Regions from separate parts of the Homo sapiens genome. Here all the other regions are linked to region 1. Evidence: promoter capture Hi-C in human tissues and cell types (Jung and others, 2019). All regions are on one chromosome and are shown on one strand. The core of a region is centred on a gene start or on the middle of the fragment in contact, and the rest is flanking DNA. Distances in the headings are between cores, read along the strand shown. Region 1 holds the start of ALOX15B (arachidonate 15-lipoxygenase type B). Region 2 overlaps TP53 (tumor protein p53). Region 3 overlaps DNAH2 (dynein axonemal heavy chain 2).

What was found. Contacts are between HindIII fragments. The study calls those that stand out against the background at their distance.
Region 2: a fragment that was not itself captured here is called in contact with the fragment with the promoter of ALOX15B in region 1 in 1 of the 25 tissues and cell types used here (aorta).
Region 3: a fragment that was not itself captured here is called in contact with the fragment with the promoter of ALOX15B in region 1 in 2 of the 25 tissues and cell types used here (lymphoblastoid cells and spleen).

The regions. Positions count from the first base shown.
Region 1 is chr17:8,037,545-8,040,864 of GRCh38, forward strand. ALOX15B (arachidonate 15-lipoxygenase type B) reads left to right here and starts at 1,515. Exons shown (of 14, transcript NM_001141.3): 1 at 1,515-1,758; 2 at 1,842-2,061; 3 at 2,358-2,439. The coding sequence starts at 1,612. The HindIII fragment of the contact is 17,440 bases long and covers 1-3,320 here.
Region 2 is chr17:7,671,576-7,674,895 of GRCh38, forward strand. TP53 (tumor protein p53) reads right to left here. Exons shown (of 11, transcript NM_000546.6): 6 at 3,284-3,320; 7 at 2,606-2,715; 8 at 2,126-2,262; 9 at 1,960-2,033. Among named protein-coding and RNA genes, the nearest start is that of TP53, 14 kb to the right of the region's middle. The HindIII fragment of the contact is 4,764 bases long and covers 1-3,320 here.
Region 3 is chr17:7,779,981-7,783,300 of GRCh38, forward strand. DNAH2 (dynein axonemal heavy chain 2) reads left to right here. Exons shown (of 86, transcript NM_020877.5): 37 at 177-304; 38 at 650-802; 39 at 1,062-1,187. Among named protein-coding and RNA genes, the nearest start is that of KDM6B, 53 kb to the right of the region's middle. The HindIII fragment of the contact is 3,196 bases long and covers 12-3,207 here.

The DNA of each region.
Region 1 (3,320 bases), core at 265-2,764:
ACAGCTTGTGCCTCTTCTCTTCTCTACTTATAGGATATTCTCTGCCTAGTGATCTCCACCAGCCTGTGGTATAGATGTACCTGTGTGCTTGTGACTCAAAGATGCACACCTGCAGTCCTGAGCTCTATGCCCAGACGTGGGTTCTCCACTTGGATGTCTAATGGCCATCTCAAACTTAGCATCTCCAGACCGAAAACCCCAAATCTGTTATGTTATTCCCCCAAAGCCCAAATCCATAACTTCCCCTTGGCATCTCTCCCCCAAATCCCTCCCTCACTGCACTCTTGCCTTTCCCTCCTCCAACAAGCCAAGCTTTTCCTAACCACAGGGCCTCTTCAGGAACAGTTTCCTCTGCACAAAACTCTGTTCCCCAGACAGATCCTTTCACCTCCTCTGAGGCTCTGAACGCCTCCCTTCCCACCTCTGCTTCTCACTCCTTCACATTAGTCTGTTTCATTTCCTTCATTGCACTTATTATCATCTGAAATTATGTGTTGGTTTACTTATTTTCTCTCACACTTGATTTTTTTTTTTTAGACCGAGATTTGCTCTGTCGCCCATGCTGGAGTGCAATGGCACAACTTCACCTCACTGAAACCTCCGCCTTCCGGGTTCAAGCTATTCTCCTGCCTCAGCCTCCTGAGTAGCTGGGACTACAGGCGCCCGCCACCACGCTTGGCTAATTTTTTTGTATTTTTAGTAGAGATGGGGTTTCACCATGTTGGCCAGCAACTGTGCCTGGCCTCACACTTGATTTTTAATCTCCATGAGAGCAAGCACTAGGTCTTGCCTGGGCCTTTATCAATAGCAGTGAGCATAGCACCTGGCACAGAGGTAGTTCTGAACATTAATTATTGAATGAAATAAAATAATGAATGTAGGCTGGGCGCGGTGGCTCACGCCTGTAATCCCAGCACTTTGGGAGGCCGAGGCAGGCGGATCATGAGGTCAAGAGATCAAGATCATCCTGGCCTACATGGTGGAACCCCGTCTCTACTAAAATACAAAAATTAGCTGGGCATGGTGGCACTCGCCTGTTGTCTCAGCTACTGGGGAGGCTGAGGTAGGAGAATCACTTGAACCCAGGAGGAGGAGGTTCCAGTGAGCCGAGATCATGCTGCTGCACTCCAGCCTGGCGACAGAGCAAGCCTCTGTCTCAAAAATAAATAAATAAATAAATTTTAAAAATAATGAACGCAGGCCCAAGAAGAGTTGTGGGAAATGGGGTGATATTTTTGCATAGACTTCTAAGGCTAAGAAGGAAAACAAACAGACGTGGTGGGCACAAATCTACCCCCACCCCAACTGGGTCCCAACTCTAGGCTCTCTGGCCTGGCACCACCACTGAAAGGCCCCGTTCCCCAAACCTCAGGGTATTCTTAGTCCCTCCTGTTCCCAGCGCTGCCAATCCCCCGCCCACCCCCACTTTAGTTGCGTGTTCCAGCCTCTCCGCCCCGCCCCTCCCCGCCCTGAAACGGACGTGCTTTTTAGAGGAGTCCACTGGGCTTGGAGTCAGTGGCAATAACCAGGGGCAATAACCAGGCGTGTCCCAGGGGGGAGCCCCGCTCTGCAGCCCTGTGCGCCGTAGAGAGCTGGACTTAGGCTGGCAGCATGGCCGAGTTCAGGGTCAGGGTGTCCACCGGAGAAGCCTTCGGGGCTGGCACATGGGACAAAGTGTCTGTCAGCATCGTGGGGACCCGGGGAGAGAGCCCCCCACTGCCCCTGGACAATCTCGGCAAGGAGTTCACTGCGGGCGCTGTGAGTGCGTGGGAGTGGATGGGGTGGAGGTGAAGGGGGCGAGCAGGAGGGTCCGGCCTGACGCATACTTAACCTCCCCTCAGGAGGAGGACTTCCAGGTGACGCTCCCGGAGGACGTAGGCCGAGTGCTGCTGCTGCGCGTGCACAAGGCGCCCCCAGTGCTGCCCCTGCTGGGGCCCCTGGCCCCGGATGCCTGGTTCTGCCGCTGGTTCCAGCTGACACCGCCGCGGGGCGGCCACCTCCTCTTCCCCTGCTACCAGTGGCTGGAGGGGGCGGGGACCCTGGTGCTGCAGGAGGGTACAGGTGAGGGGCGGGCCGGGCTGGGGCTGCAGGGGGAGCACAGGAAGGGGTAGGGGACTGGGGGTTGGGGAGAAGGGCAGGTGAAATGGAGAGGTGAGCTGGTGTGGCCACAGAGTAGCGGGCAGAGGAGAGGGAATGGCGGAGCCTTGGGGAGCGGGAGGTAGCAGCCTGGTGTAGGAGAAACTGTACTTATGGGAGGAGGGGACCTGGTAGAGGGTGGCAATCGTGGAGACTGTGTGGCTGGTGGTAGTGATGGTGAGTTTCTCTCCCCACCCCAACCTACTCCCCTTCTCCCACAGCCAAGGTGTCCTGGGCAGACCACCACCCTGTGCTCCAGCAACAGCGCCAGGAGGAGCTTCAGGCCCGGCAGGAGATGTACCAGTGAGGAGGGGGTTACTGATGGGGGAGGGTGTGCCCAAACGATGAGGGGCAGCTTGAGTGTCCTGGTCATGACAGAGATTAAAAGCCCCTGCCTCCACCTCTCCTATCAAAGCTGCTCCTGGGATCAGCAGCGTCTACAGGAACGTATTAGAAATGCAAATTCTCAGGCCACCTCCAACCTACTACGACACTGAGGGTGTAGAGTGGGAATTTTTGTTTTGACAAGCCTTCCAGATGACTCTGGTGGCCACTGATGTTTGAAAAACACTGCTCTAGGGCCAGGTGCCGTGGTGGCTCACACCTGTAATCTCAGCACTTTGGGAGGCTGAGGGAGGCGGATCACTGGAGGTCGGGAGTTCGAGACCAGCCTGGCCAACAGGGCGAAACCCCATCTCTACTAAAAATACAAAAATCAGCTGGGTAGGGTGGCGGGCACCTGTATTCTCAGCTACATGGGAGGCTGAGGCAGAAGAATAGCTTGAACCCGGGTGGTGGAGGTTGCAGTGAGCCGATCACGCCATTGCACTCCAGCATGGGGGACAGAGCAAAACTCCATCTCAAAAAAAGAAAAAAAAAAAGGAAGGAAGGAAAAGGAAGGAAAGAGAGAAAGAAAGAGAGAGAAAGAAAGAAAGAAAGAAAGAAAGAAAGAAAGAAAGAAAGAAAGAAAGAAAAGAAAGAGAAAGAAACTGCTTTAAATGCCTTACCTTTGCTGGTGTCTTCCTTGCCCTGGGACTTTTTCATGCATCGGCTTGTTGTGTCCTCCCAGAAATCTGAGTAGAGCCAGAAACACGCCCTTCAAGCCCCAGGAAACTCACCCTCCAGGGCTAGCAAGGGGTGAGATGGGGGCTCTCTCTGTGCTCTGGGCTCAGCATTGGAGATCA
Region 2 (3,320 bases), core at 821-3,320, 370 kb before region 1:
AGGCGTGAGCCAGTGCGCCTGGCCTTTTCTTTTTTTGAGTCTCGCTCTGCGCCCAGGCTGTGCCTGGCTCGACTGTGCCTCCTTTCATGCAACCATGCTGTTTCTCACTTTCAGTAACAATATTCAATAAATCACATGAGATATACAACATTTTATTACTATAAAAAGGGCTTTGTGTTAGATGACTTTGCCCAACTGTAGGGTAACTTAAATGCTCTGAACACGTTTCAAGTAGGCTAGGGCTGAGTGTGGTAGCTCATGCCTGTAACCCCAATACTTGGGGAGGCTGAGGTGGAAGGATTGATTGAGCCCAGGGGTTTGATACCAGCATGGGCAACGTAGCAAGACCTTGACTTCACAGAAAATAAAAAATTAGCTGGGTGTCGTGGCATGTGCCTGTAGTCCTAGCTACTTGGGAGGGTGAAATCACCGGAGCCCAGGGAGGTCAAGGCTGCAGTGAGCTGAGATGGTGCCACTGCACTCTAGCCTGAGTGACAGAGTGAGACTCTGTCTTTAAATAAATAAATAAAAATTAGCCGGGCGTGGTGGCTCACACCTGTAATCCCAGCACTTTGGGAGGCCGAGGCGGGCGGATCACATGGTCAGAAGTTCGAGACCAGCCTGGCCAACATGGTGAAACCCTGTCTCTACTAAAAATACAAAAATTAGCTGGGCGTGGTAGCAGGCGCTTGTAGTCCTAGCTATTCGGGAGGCTGAGGCAGGAGAATCACTTGAACCCAGGAGGCAGAGGTTGCAGTGAGCCGAGATCATGCCACTGCACTCCAGCCTGGGCGACAGAGTGAGACTGAGTCTCAAAAAAATAAAATAAAATAAAATAAAAATAAATAAATAAAAATTAGCCAGGCATGGTGGTGCAGGCCTGTAGTTGAAGCAACTTGGGAGGCTGAGCTGGGAGGATGGATGGAGCCTGGGAGGTGGAGGCTGCAGTGAGCTGTGACTGCACTACTGCACTCTATCCAGCCTGGGTGACAGAGCAAGACCTTGTCTCAAAAAAGTAGGCTAGAGACCAGCCTGGGCAACATAGTGAGACTCTATCTATCTACAAAAAATTTTAAAAATTAGCTGGGTATGGTGGTGTATGCCTGTGGTCCTAGCTACTGGGGAGGCAGAGTTAGGGGGATTGCTTGAGCCCAGGAGGGTATAATGAGCTATGATCACATCACTGTAATCCAGCCTGGGCAACAGAGCAAGATGCTGTCTCCATTAAAAATAAAATAAAAGTAGGCTAGGCAGGCCGGGTGCGGTGGCTCACGCCTGTAATCCCAGCACTTTGGGAGGCCAAGGCAGGCAGATCACAAGGTCAGGAGTTCGAGACTAGCCTGGCCAACATGGTGAAACCTCATCTCTACTAAAAAAAAAAATAAATAAATAACAAAAAATTAGCTGGGCGTCGGGGCAGGTGCCTGTAATCCCAGCTACTCAGTGGGCTGAGGCAGGAGAATCGCTTGAACCCAGAAGGCGGAGGTTGCAGTGAGCCGAGATCCCGCCACTGCACTCCAGCCTGGGTGACAGAGTGAGACTCTGTCTCCAAAAAAAAAAAAAAAAAAAGCAGGCTAGGCTAAGCTATGATGTTCCTTAGATTAGGTGTATTAAATCCATTTTCAACTTACAATATTTTCAACTTACGACGAGTTTATCAGGAAGTAACACCATCGTAAGTCAAGTAGCATCTGTATCAGGCAAAGTCATAGAACCATTTTCATGCTCTCTTTAACAATTTTCTTTTTGAAAGCTGGTCTGGTCCTTTAAAATATATATTATGGTATAAGTTGGTGTTCTGAAGTTAGTTAGCTACAACCAGGAGCCATTGTCTTTGAGGCATCACTGCCCCCTGATGGCAAATGCCCCAATTGCAGGTAAAACAGTCAAGAAGAAAACGGCATTTTGAGTGTTAGACTGGAAACTTTCCACTTGATAAGAGGTCCCAAGACTTAGTACCTGAAGGGTGAAATATTCTCCATCCAGTGGTTTCTTCTTTGGCTGGGGAGAGGAGCTGGTGTTGTTGGGCAGTGCTAGGAAAGAGGCAAGGAAAGGTGATAAAAGTGAATCTGAGGCATAACTGCACCCTTGGTCTCCTCCACCGCTTCTTGTCCTGCTTGCTTACCTCGCTTAGTGCTCCCTGGGGGCAGCTCGTGGTGAGGCTCCCCTTTCTTGCGGAGATTCTCTTCCTCTGTGCGCCGGTCTCTCCCAGGACAGGCACAAACACGCACCTCAAAGCTGTTCCGTCCCAGTAGATTACCACTACTCAGGATAGGAAAAGAGAAGCAAGAGGCAGTAAGGAAATCAGGTCCTACCTGTCCCATTTAAAAAACCAGGCTCCATCTACTCCCAACCACCCTTGTCCTTTCTGGAGCCTAAGCTCCAGCTCCAGGTAGGTGGAGGAGAAGCCACAGGTTAAGAGGTCCCAAAGCCAGAGAAAAGAAAACTGAGTGGGAGCAGTAAGGAGATTCCCCGCCGGGGATGTGATGAGAGGTGGATGGGTAGTAGTATGGAAGAAATCGGTAAGAGGTGGGCCCAGGGGTCAGAGGCAAGCAGAGGCTGGGGCACAGCAGGCCAGTGTGCAGGGTGGCAAGTGGCTCCTGACCTGGAGTCTTCCAGTGTGATGATGGTGAGGATGGGCCTCCGGTTCATGCCGCCCATGCAGGAACTGTTACACATGTAGTTGTAGTGGATGGTGGTACAGTCAGAGCCAACCTAGGAGATAACACAGGCCCAAGATGAGGCCAGTGCGCCTTGGGGAGACCTGTGGCAAGCAGGGGAGGCCTTTTTTTTTTTTTTTTGAGATGGAATCTCGCTCTGTCGCCCAGGCTGGAGTGCAGTGGCGTGATCTCAGCTCACTGCAAGCTCCACCGCCCAGGTTCACGCCATTCTCCTTCCTCAGCCTCCCGAGTAGCTGGGACTACAGGTGCCCAGCACCACGCCCGGCTAATTTTTTTTTGTATTTTTCAGTAGAGACGGGGTTTCACCGTTAGCCAGGATGGTCTCGATCTCCCAACCTCGTGATCCGCCTGCCTTGGCCTCCCAAAGTGCTGGGATTACAGGCATGAGCCACTGCGCCCAGCCAAGCAGGGGAGGCCCTTAGCCTCTGTAAGCTTCAGTTTTTTCAACTGTGCAATAGTTAAACCCATTTACTTTGCACATCTCATGGGGTTATAGGGAGGTCAAATAAGCAGCAGGAGAAAGCCCCCCTACTGCTCACCTGGAGGGCCACTGACAACCACCCTTAACCCCTCCTCCCAGAGACCCCAGTTGCAAACCAGACCTCAGGCGGCTCATAGGGCACCACCACACTATGTCGA
Region 3 (3,320 bases), core at 360-2,859, 260 kb before region 1:
AAAGTGGACTGGGAAGGGCTGGGGCTGAGATGAGAAAGGATGTGGTCTTGGAGTTGGAGAGAAAGTTAGGGATGGAGTTAGGGTGGGAGAAAATGAGACTGATTGGAAAGTGGGTTTGGGGAAGCAAATCAAGATGAGGAAATATATGATTCTAAGCAAGTGGCATTGTTTTCCAGGCTATGCTGGCCGCACAGAGCTTCCCGAAAATCTTAAATCCATGTTCCGCCCAATTGCCATGGTGGTGCCTGACTCCACCCTCATTGCAGAAATCATTCTCTTTGGAGAGGGCTTTGGCAACTGCAAGGTACTCCAATAACCCCTTTTCTCCAGTGATTTTAATTTCCTTTCATAATTATTCCCTGGACAGAGGAGCTCCCCAAGGGCCTCACAATCAGCTTATCCTCTAAGGAACTTAGACTATTGTCAGTAGGATGTGTGGGGAGAAAAATTTAGGGGAGGGAGGTGTCTCCTCCGTGATATCACTAACTGACAATGGCGTCATTCACACAATTTCCTCAGGAGAATCCATAGAGTGCCTCCTAGCTGCTTCATGTCCTGGGACCTGGCTTCTTGTCTCTGACTGTCCTGAGATGAAGCAGAGGGATTTGTGGGGAGATGGACTGTTTCCTCCTCTGTTTTGGTTCCCCAGATTCTGGCCAAGAAGGTGTACACACTCTACTCACTGGCTGTGCAGCAGCTGTCCAGACAGGACCACTATGACTTTGGCCTGCGTGCCCTCACCTCCCTTCTGCGCTATGCTGGCAAGAAGCGCCGCCTACAGCCGGATCTGACTGATGAAGAGGTAGAGCAAGGACACAGCCTTTGGACCTGACTTCCACTGTCACTGGACCTATGTCACTTCTCTCAAGTCTTTCAGACCCTTTCTTTCCTCAGATTGGGATTCTCACCTTCCCACCTCGTCCCATCCCCGTGTTGCCCGCTGCTTTGCTAATGGCTAACTGGTGTATCCATTGTTCTTGGCACGTGCCCCGAAGCCCTTTGGAGGTGAAAGGCCTAGGCCCTGCCTCCTCAAGCCTGAGTCTCTGTCTTTTCCCATTCAGGTTCTGCTGCTCTCAATGAGAGATATGAACATCGCCAAGCTCACTTCAGTTGATGCACCCCTGTTCAATGCCATCGTGCAAGATCTGTTTCCCAACATTGAGCTGCCTGTCATTGACTATGGCAAGGTATTTGTTCCTTAATACTCTCCCTGACCGGGTGCTGTGGCTCATGGTTGTAATCCCAGCACTTTGGGAGGCCGAGGTGGGCAGACTGTTTGAGTCCAGGAGTTTGAGACTAGCCTGGGCAACATGGTGAAACCCTGTATCTACAAAAAGTACAAAAATTAGCCAGGCATGGTGGTGCACACGAGTGTAGTCCCAGCTACTCGGGAGGCTGAGGTAGGAGGATTGCTTGAGCCCCAGGAGATTGAGGCTATAATGAGCTGAGATTGTGCCTCTGCACTCCAGCCTGGGTGACAGAGCAAGACCGTGTCTCAAAAAACAAAACAAAAACAAAAAAACCGCACTCTCCCTGACCACATATGTGAATATGCATCTGGGAATAGAAAACTTGGCTTCCAGTCCTTGTTCTGCCATCTACTAGCTATGACTCTGAACAAGTCAATTGACCTCTCTTTGGACTTCCTTATCTATAAAGCAATAGACTATTCAAACATTCTGCTCTCTGACCACAACTCCCTCCTCCGCTGACCTACTCAAGTGTACCTGCTCAAGTGCATCCATGCAGCAACGCTCTGACTTCATTGAAACCTCTAGTCCGTTGCCTTTGCACTTTCTCCGTGCCCATCAGTCCTCCATGCCTCTACTTCTCACCTCATCAGGGAGTTTTGAGGAGGGGCTGCTAGAAGCCATTTGGTATCAGAGAGCAGCAGAATGGAAGAGGGAGTTTTAGAAAGCATAAGAACTTTCTTCTCTGGCAGTGTGGTAGTCTAGATACCCTGAATGATCCTTTCAATTGAAACTACTAAAATGATGGATAAAAATATAATAATAACATCCTTTTTAATGCATTGCTAAGCTGGCAAGAAAGGAAGAATTCCAGGAGTTGAGGAGGGTAGGGAGTAAAAGCAGGAACCCTGGGAGGCAGGTAAGTACCAAAGCTGGCCTTCTCCCTGAAAACTGTTGTTGATCTTAAGGCAGTGAGGATAGGAGATGAAACAACCCAAGTCTGAAGATATAACAGAAGATGCAGTGCTGCATAAACCCCAGTCCCCAAGGGGCAACATCCCCAGTAGATGGAAAAACGAGAAGTCTGAGATTTAGAAGCGTATATACAGGAAAGAAACTTGCTTGTTTTGACCTCTGATGATGGAAGAAAAAGACCAAATTTTCTTTGAGATTTCCTAACCACACACCAGCTCTCACATGGTTTCCAGTCATCATTTATCCTACTGTGTAATCAGAAAAGAAATCTCAAGCTTAGATTTCAATATTAAGTAGTTCTAGGTTGTTAGTGCCCCCAGGTGACTGGAAGAAGCAAAAGCAAATTATTTCTGGAGGAATGAAATTTCAACTCACACTTCAAAGAAGTGCCACAGGTAAAAGTCCAAGAAAATGAGCAACTCATGGTCAAAAATCACAAAACACACAAGGAAACAAGAAACCATGAATGGGAGCCAGAAGAACAACAGACAGTGGAATCAGATCCATGAAAACTTACTTCAGATATTGAAACTGATAGGGGCGAGGTGCGGTGGTTCACGCCTGTCATCTCAACACTTTGGAGGCTGAGGCAACAGGATCACTTTAGGCTAGGAGTTCAAGACCAGCCTGGGTAACATAGCAAGACCTCCATCTCTTAAAAAAAAAAATAGCCACACATGGAGGTGTGCTCCTGTAGTCACAACTACTTTCTCCAAAAGCTACTAGAAAAACGTGCTCTACTTAAACACAGGAACACATCGTGAAAAGGACGATGGGAAACAAAAGATTTGGTGCAAGGGGGAGGCTACAGTAATCCTCGGGGTGTTGGTGAATGGAGGTCACAGGATGATGGTGGTGCACTGGGCAAAGAGAGAAGCCAATCCAGACTGGAGCAAACCTGAAGTCTTCAGGAGGACTGTTTTTTTGTTTTGTTTTGTTTTGTTTTTTTGAGATGGAGTTTCACTCTTGTTGCCCAGGCTGGAGTGCAATGGCACAATCTTGGCTCACCGCAACCTCCGCCTCCCAGGTTCAAGCGATTCTCCTGCCTCAGCCTCCCGAGTAGCTAGGATTACAGGCATGCACCACCACACCCAGCTAATTTTGTATTTTTGGTAGAGACGGGGTTTCTCCATGTTGGTCAGGCTGGTCTCGAAC